Linked DNA regions of Homo sapiens: regions 2 and 3 are each linked to region 1. Evidence: promoter capture Hi-C in 16 types of primary human blood cells and fetal thymus (Javierre and others, 2016). All regions are on one chromosome and are shown on one strand. The core of a region is centred on a gene start or on the middle of the fragment in contact, and the rest is flanking DNA. Distances in the headings are between cores, read along the strand shown.

Region 1 (2,602 bases), core at 33-2,532:
GCGGGAGGAGGCTGCCCTGCAACACACTTGCGCCCTGCAATCTTTTTTTTTTTTTTCTTTTAATCAAAAGGGCCTGATTTCTCTTGGCAGGGAAGTGCCTAGGACAGTTCCTGGTCGTCCCCTGGGTCTCTGCTCCGTGTCGCGCAGACGTCCTTTGGGCGGGCCGCGCTCCTGGGCGCGGAGTCCCGGCTACAGGAGCTGGGCCGCGGGGCCCACAGTCTGCCCGCGCCCGGCTGCCCTCCCGATTCCTAGAAACCAGGTCGGGAAGCCGCGCGCCGCGCGCTCACCCGGGTCCGGCGGCTCCGAGGGCCGGGCCACAGCGCCCGCGGCGTCCGCTTGGTTTTTGGAGCAGTTGGCTCCAGGGCGGTCTGGCCACCGCGCAGGTCGCGCAGCCAGACACCCGGCTCCGGGTCGCCGGAGAGGCCGGGCGCGCTTCCCGTCGGCCCGGAGAGACCGGAGCCTTCTTTGTCACTCGCTGTGCGTAAGAACAGGCCAGGGGCCGGGGTCTGCCGCGGCCACCGGGGGAGAGGGAGCATCTGGCAGACCCTGCCTCCGACGTGATTCCCTGCCCGGCACTCGGCGGCCTCCGCCGGGGTAGGAAGCTTGGGGTACCTGGCGGGGCTCAGACCGGGACCGGCCGGCCCTGCAGCAGCCTTAGGTCTGCTTAGAAATCAGGCTGAGCTGCGCGTCCAGCCTTGGCCGGGGAGCCCTGGGCACCCCTCCTCCCAGTCCGTTGCCCGCTCCTCCCTCCGGCGCCCTCCCTGCGGTCGACCTGCCTCTTCCCACTTCTCCTTCGGGCGGCCCCAGGACAAGCTGCAGCCCCTTGCATTTATTGCATGCATCTGGGCAACTTGGGGCGCCTCAGCATTTTACAGCCCCCCGCCCCGCCCATCGTGTTCGACTGTGTGGCAGGTTTTGCAGGGAGGTATTAAGGGGCCAAACTGCAATTGTGCAGTGGCTGCGTTTGTTTCTTTTCAAGATTTATTTGGGCGAGTAGTAACTTCCTTGGCCGCGGCTGGACGCGAGGAGCCGCGGTGCGTGGCGGGGGGCGGCGGCGGCGCTCGGTGGCGCTCGGCGGCGGCGGGGCTCGCGGGGCTCGCGGGGCTCGGGCCGGCTCGCGGCGCCGTCAGGCAGTCAGTCGGCGAGCGCGGCGGCGGCGGCGGCGAGGGGCGCGGCGAGGGGCGGCCGCTCCCATATATGGCGCAGGCACCGCCCCCCGACGTCACCCTCTGACAGCGCCGCTCCCGGGGGCTTCGAGTTTTGGCTCCCGGGAAAGGGTCCATTCCTCGGGGAGAGAGGGCTGAGTTTTGTGCGCCTCCGTCCGCTGCGCGCGCCGCTCCAGGCCCCGCCGCGCCCCGCCTGCGCCCGGGACTGCGCCGCAGCACTCACTGCCCCGTTTATTTGTCTTTGGAGCAGGCGGGCCGCGCCAGAAGCGGGCGATCCCGCAGTGTCCTGCAGCCGCGGACGCCGCCTGGCTAGGATGACACCACGTTGAGCGCGCCTGCAAACAACAACAACAACAAGCGCCGCCGCGGCCACCGCGTCCTGCTCCTTCGAAGCGCCGCCGCCGCCGGTGGAGCCGCCTCCGCGCCCCTGGCCGTCCGGAGCGCCCGGCCGCTGGTGTATGTCGCGCCTGCCCGGGACGGGCTGAAGCCGGCGGCGGGGCCGGACCGCAGGCGCCGAGCAGGGCGAGGGCGGCCAGGGCAGCCGCCTGCCGCCAAGCCCCGAGCGCCGCTGCTCGAGGAAACGCTTTCGGCCGGGAGCTGCGGCCGCCGCCAGCAGTTTTCATGTTTGGGATTCAGGAGAATATTCCGCGCGGGGGGACGACCATGAAGGAGGAGCCGCTGGGCAGCGGCATGAACCCGGTGCGCTCGTGGATGCACACGGCGGGCGTGGTGGACGCCAACACGGCCGCCCAGAGGTACGTACCGGCCGCCCCCGCGCGCCCTGGCCCCGGCCCCGGCCCGGCCCGGCCCCCTCCGCCGGCCGGCGCCGCGCTCCTCACCGGGCCGCTGTCTCTTTCCTCCCGCAGCGGCGTGGGGCTGGCGCGGGCGCACTTCGAGAAGCAGCCGCCTTCCAACCTCCGGAAATCCAATTTCTTCCACTTCGTGCTGGCGCTCTACGATAGGCAGGGGCAGCCGGTGGAGATTGAAAGGACCGCTTTTGTGGACTTTGTGGAGAAAGAGAAAGTAAGTGCAAACACACGATCACACCCTCTCTCTTTCTAGAAGCGGGAGGCAGGCGGTGCCGGTGCGCGGGGGTTCGAGTGCCCCCCTAGGCGGCGGGCTCGGCTCCGCCAGGCCACCCCGCCGCCGCCACGTGCGGCCGCCCGGGACCGCCGAGGGCTGGGCAACTTCTCTGCGCCCTCGGACTTACTCGGGGCGAGGAGAACGCTGGGCTTCCAGCAGGAAAGTGACATCACCGCGCTGCTTCGAGCTAGGAATCCTGCCATGTGTGAGGCCGAGAGCCTCGGTCGCGGAGGGGGACCGAGCGTGGTGGCCGCGCCTGACACCGATCGCACTAAATGCAATTATTTATCGTTACTTTCAGGAGCCAAACAACGAGAAAACCAACAACGGCATCCACTATAAACTCCAGTTAT
Region 2 (2,602 bases), core at 37-2,536, 950 kb after region 1:
AGGAATTGCCACACTGTCTTCCACAATGGTTGAACTAGTCTACACTCCCAGCAACAGTGTAAAAGCATTCCTATTTCTCCACATCCTCTCCAGCATCTATTCCTTCCTGACTTTTTAATGATTGCCAATCTAACTGGTGTGAGATGGTATCTCATTGTGGTTTTGATTTGCATTTCTCTGATGACCAGTGATGATGAGCATTTTTTCATGTGTCTGTTGGCTGCATAGGTGTCTTCTTTTGAGAAGTATCTGTTCATATCCTTTACACACTTTTTGATGAGCTTGTTTGTTTTTTTCTTGTATATTTGTTTGAGTTCTTTGTAGATTCTGGATATTAGCCCTTTGTCAGATGGGTAGATTGCAAAAATTTTTTCCCATTCTGTAGGTTGCCTGTTCACTCTGATGGTAGTTTCTTTTGCTGTGCAGAAGCTCCTTAGTTTAATTAGATCCCATTTGTCTACTTTGGCTTTTGTTGCCATTGCTTTTGGTGTTTGAGTCATGAAGTCTTTGTTGCTTCAAGCTTTGTCTTTCCTTACGGAGTACCATGTATTCCTGTTTTGGATGTTTTAACTGTTATCCAGATGAGCGGTAAGTTTTATCTTCTTGAAGTCATTTTTCAATCAGGATCCCAAATCCATGGACATTATATTTAATGTAACGTATCTTCTTACCAGCATTGACTCTGCTCCATTATTCATTAGAAAGCATGTTTCAGTAAGTGAAGTTGAGGAGTGAGTGGTTGGTGAGGTGGTGGAGACAGGACAGAAGACTTGAGTTTCCTTGTTTACAGGAGAAAAGAGAGAAGGCAGGAGTAGAAAGAGGGGGTGGACTGAGGAAGGAGTTTTTTAGGACCAGGAAGATGTGACCACAATGATGAGAGAGAAGTGCTAACAGTCTAGAAAGACAATTCTAAAAGACTAGGGGAAATTACAAAAATCTAGGCTGCTGCTACACTTGGGGAGACTTGCATAGAATATTTACAAGTAACTGTGAACTTGAACAATTGTAGGCAGCATACTGAGATGCAATTAACAGAAGAAAGATAAGATGAAAGGGCTTGGATTCTGTAGGCCCACCCTCAAAGATGACCAAATAGAGAAATGGCAATTAAAATAATACAGTTAGGTTACATGTATATTCATGTATGTGTGTGTGTGTGTGTGTGTATACAAACATGTATACAAGTAAGTGAATATTTACTATATCATAATATATTCTAATTTTACAAATAATACTGATTATGATAAATACTTAATCCTCACTTTAACTGTCTCTGTTGATCAACCAGCTGATATCTGTTCTGGGGTGACTGGCTTGGGGAGCAGGACAGTCTACTAAACTACTGTAGGTTGTAGAAGGCAATAGGGGGAGGGCTACTTGAGGGAATGGCTTTTTCCTCCAAGGGGCTGGGGCAGAGGACACAGATTGGAGGGTCCATGGCACCCTCAATGGCTGGACTCAGAAAGGAGGCCATGGTAGTTAGTTGCTTTATGGTTATCTGGGGACTTTGGCTGACTCCTAAGCCAGAAGATTCAGGCCTTTTGCATGGCCCAGCCTGGTCACCCACTATCCTTCAAGGAGCTCAGTCTCTGAACTCCTGGGACCTGCATCCAGCCAGCTGACTTCTCACTGCCACCATCATGGCCCAGGCCAAGTGGAAGGTGGGCCGCCATCAGCAGGGTTGAATCTCCCTGCAGTTCAGGTCTGCAAACCTCTTGCTTCACTGTGAGTCAGGTAAATCAGGTAAACACCTTTTGAATGTATATTTAGGCACAACCCATTTTTACCGCACTGAAGGTAGCTTTAGAAAGAGATTTGCCGCTTCATGGCTATCTTTTTAAATTGTAAGTATTTAGGCATCATGCTGGATGTTCGTAGTCCATTCTCAATTTATTTATTTGTTAAATTGATGGAAAAACCTGTATATTGACTGCATGACTCTGTCTTTCTGTGTGTTTGGAATGAACAAAAGGCCTTAGACCAGCTGTAGTTGAAAATACTGTTTTAAAAAAAAATAATCCCCTGTGGGAGATTAACTTCAAGAAAGCTTTCTCTGATATTTGGAAAATATCCTAGAGAGTTCACACTAGGAACTAGTATAAATGTTTATCTTAAATGTCACAACATTAAATATCATTGAATGATAGATGTGTAAGATTCATAGTATGTCAATATGACACTAAACATCAAAATAACATTTTTCATTTTTCTCTTTTGCTTTCTATCAAACCCATTTTAAATAGAGGAAGCCACAAAGGCCAATGTGCCTCATTTTATTCTCTTCCAGAATACTGTTTCCAAACTACCTATGGGGGCAGTGCCACTGCCAGCACAGGCCGACCCTGTTGACTACCCCCATGGTCTCTGTCTGCTGCACTGGTGTGGAGGGAGCATCTTGAACTTGTCTCCTTTGGAAGAGTCCTGCACCCTCTTCACTGGGGTCCTTCTGTTGATTCAGGGCTTTAGGGGTGTGTCTAAAGGAACCGATGTAGCTGGGGTCATGTTCCCAGATGGCCACACTTGGCTGAATGTAGACGTCATCACTTTGATTGAGGGCAACTTAGGAATGAAGTAAAGAGTAAGTAGCCACCCAGACAGGGAC
Region 3 (2,602 bases), core at 32-2,531, 910 kb after region 1:
TGATTCCATGTCTTTGGAAAGTGTGTTTTCAATGAGTGTTTGAATGAAAGGATGTATGGTCCACCTGTTTATGACTCATTCTTGGAGCCACCAGGAACCTCTGAGTGCTGGGGCAGCCCATTTCTTTCTCCACCACCATCCAGTTAGAAAGAACTCATGAAACACCATTCTGACCATGCCTGCTGGCTGGGCAGTCCACCTTACTCATGAGCTTCCTCCACTCCCTTCGCCAGTCCCAGTTCAACTCTTGGAGCTGCCACCTCTCCCCACGTGACAGTGACAGCTCTCTGGGTGTTGGGGCCAGCTACCTCTCCTCACAGGGCTGGGTACTGGGGGCAGCTACCCTCCTCACAGGGACCTCTGCACTGAGGCTGTCATGCTCATACAAGGAAGGAACTGCAAGGACCCAGGCCAGATCCATCTCCTGATGGCTGGGCAGTTGGAACTCAGGTGTGACCCATCAGTGCAGCTGACTTCAAACTTGAAAGGCTTTGGAGAGGATGGGCTGGGGAGACAGGATCAGATCAGGTAGGGAGCAGGTGAGGGGATGGACAGCGAACAACCTTGAAAACAGGGTTAATTCCTGAGGCTGAGAATCATGGCTGCTGCATAGTCTCCGAAATAAGTAGGCAGCAGCCTGGACTCCAGGTCCTGATGAGGACGTGGGCCTGGGAGTTACTGTAGGGGCTCTGCTCGCCAACTGGCTCGGACAGAGGGAGCCACCATTCTCTGGGAGAACCTGGACATTTTACAGACAGGGTGATGGAGACTTTACCCAGCTGGGAAGCCAGGCAGCACCAGCTTCCTGCTCCCCATCACCCAACAGGCCAAGACCTATTCATCTCCTCACATGTAGATGGCTGGGCCTAAGGCCACAGCAATGCCCCCATCACTTGAAGCGCCCTGTTTAAGGTCTAGTGCTTCTCCCTGAACAATTTCTATAAGAGCAATGGCCTGACCCCTTCCTGTGGCCGGTCCCTACCTGGTGGAACTGCTCCAGGAGGTCCGGTCTGTGTCAGCCTCCTCCCCGGTAACAGCAGCCAGTGGAGGGACCTGTGACCCACCAGGGCAGGCACTGAGATGGCCCCAGTCAGGGGAGGTCCTGGCCCTGCTCTGCCTGCATCCTAGCCCTGTCTTCATGGCCAATTGGCGTTGGTGGGACCCCATGGAAGCCAGTGGCCAGCCAGGCTCTACCCCACAGGAGCCCTGGTGAGGGCTGACTCCCTGGGCTCAGGTCACACCTGATGCTTTTTTGCAAAGAAGAACCAAGGTTTTCAGTGTTCAGGCTAGAGCTGCACCAATAATCCATGTATTTTATGCACATGGAAATTTAGCATCATGGATTGAAAGAGGACTCCAATCTGAGGGTTGGAATGACCCACAGAAACCTTTTGCAAATGTGGCCCAGAGAGGTCGAGTGACCTGCACAGATCATGACAGCCCCAGCTGGAATGGCTCACAGCTCACGGCTCACGGCTCAGTTTAGTCCATGTCTGACAGAGCAAAGGGGCTGGAGCATGGGCCAGGAGGGACACCTCTGGGTTCAAATCCCAGCCCTGGATTCGCCAGGTGTTCAGATTCGGCAACTCACAGAAGCATTCTAGTGTGGAGTGTGCTCGTCTGTAAAGTGGGACGATGCTGGGATGATTCTGGTGCTGCTTTCTTGGGGTTGTTTTGAGGGTCACATGAGATAATTAAGATCAGAGGCTTTGAGCAGGGTGCAGTGCATGGCAAGTGCTCAGTCCTTTGCTCTTTTTGACACTCTCTGGCATCAGGTCTATGTCCTAAGAGAAATGGTTGTCGGATAATGGGCATTGTTATTTTTGGTCTACCTTGTAATCTTTTTTTAACCTGACACCCTTCGTCTTTGGCAGCACAGAACCGTGTTGGATAATGTCTCCACTGCCCCGCCCCATGCTCATTCATAACTCACAGCTGGACCCCCATCTGCCCCTACAGCACGGTGGGAAGAGCAAGGACTGGGGCCAGATGGTGGGTTTCATTGCAGCCCTTCACCAGCTGTGTGACCGCAGGCAAGTCACACACTCTCTGTGCCTCGATCCTCATTTAAAAATGAAGATTAGAATAATAACTTCCTTACAGATTGTTATGAAGGTGGATAAAGTCATGCAAATAATGGCCTCAGAATGTCCTTGGTACATGTTAAGCACTCTGACAGTGTTTTATAAAATCAGACATCATCAGTGTTTGCCAGGAACTGGATGGGAGGGAGAGAGAGCAAAGGGGAATTTTAGGGCCAGAAAACTCTCCTGCATGTGTTACTGTGGTGGTGGATTCATGACATTATGATTTGTCAAAATCCACAGAATATACAGCACAGGCAGCAAACCCTAATGTAAACTGTGGACTTGGTTAATAATAATGAATCAGCATTGGCTCATCAATTGTAACAAATATACCAGCCAATGCAAGGTCCTCATCTTCAGGGAACCTCTGGGGGTACATGGACGGGCAGGCTGAGAGGGCATATGGTAACCCTCTGTCCCCTCTGCTTCATTGTTCTGTTACCCTAAAACTGCTCCCCAAACAAAGCCTTTTAGTTAAAAATAATGAGTTACCCACATATCACCTTGTTCCATGA

What was found. Contacts are between HindIII fragments. The CHiCAGO score rates a contact against its expected background, and 5 or more counts as called.
Region 2: a fragment that was not itself captured here is called in contact with the fragment with the promoter of EBF3 in region 1 in 5 of 17 cell types (naive CD8 T cells, megakaryocytes, naive CD4 T cells and 2 more); the score reaches 8.8 in naive CD8 T cells.
Region 3: a fragment that was not itself captured here is called in contact with the fragment with the promoter of EBF3 in region 1 in 1 of 17 cell types (endothelial precursors); the score reaches 6.1 in endothelial precursors.

What each region holds. Positions count from the first base shown.
Region 1 is chr10:129,962,954-129,965,555 of GRCh38, reverse strand. It overlaps EBF3 (EBF transcription factor 3), which reads left to right and starts at 1,282. Exons shown (of 17, transcript NM_001375380.1): 1 at 1,282-1,921; 2 at 2,033-2,189; 3 at 2,551-2,602. The coding sequence starts at 1,788. RefSeq lists an enhancer at 184-1,155. The HindIII fragment of the contact is 12,336 bases long and covers 605-2,602 here.
Region 2 is chr10:129,012,659-129,015,260 of GRCh38, reverse strand. No RefSeq gene overlaps it. Among named protein-coding and RNA genes, the nearest start is that of LINC02667, 100 kb to the right of the region's middle. The HindIII fragment of the contact is 1,527 bases long and covers 523-2,049 here.
Region 3 is chr10:129,049,055-129,051,656 of GRCh38, reverse strand. No RefSeq gene overlaps it. Among named protein-coding and RNA genes, the nearest start is that of LINC02667, 140 kb to the right of the region's middle. The HindIII fragment of the contact is 3,922 bases long and covers 1-2,602 here.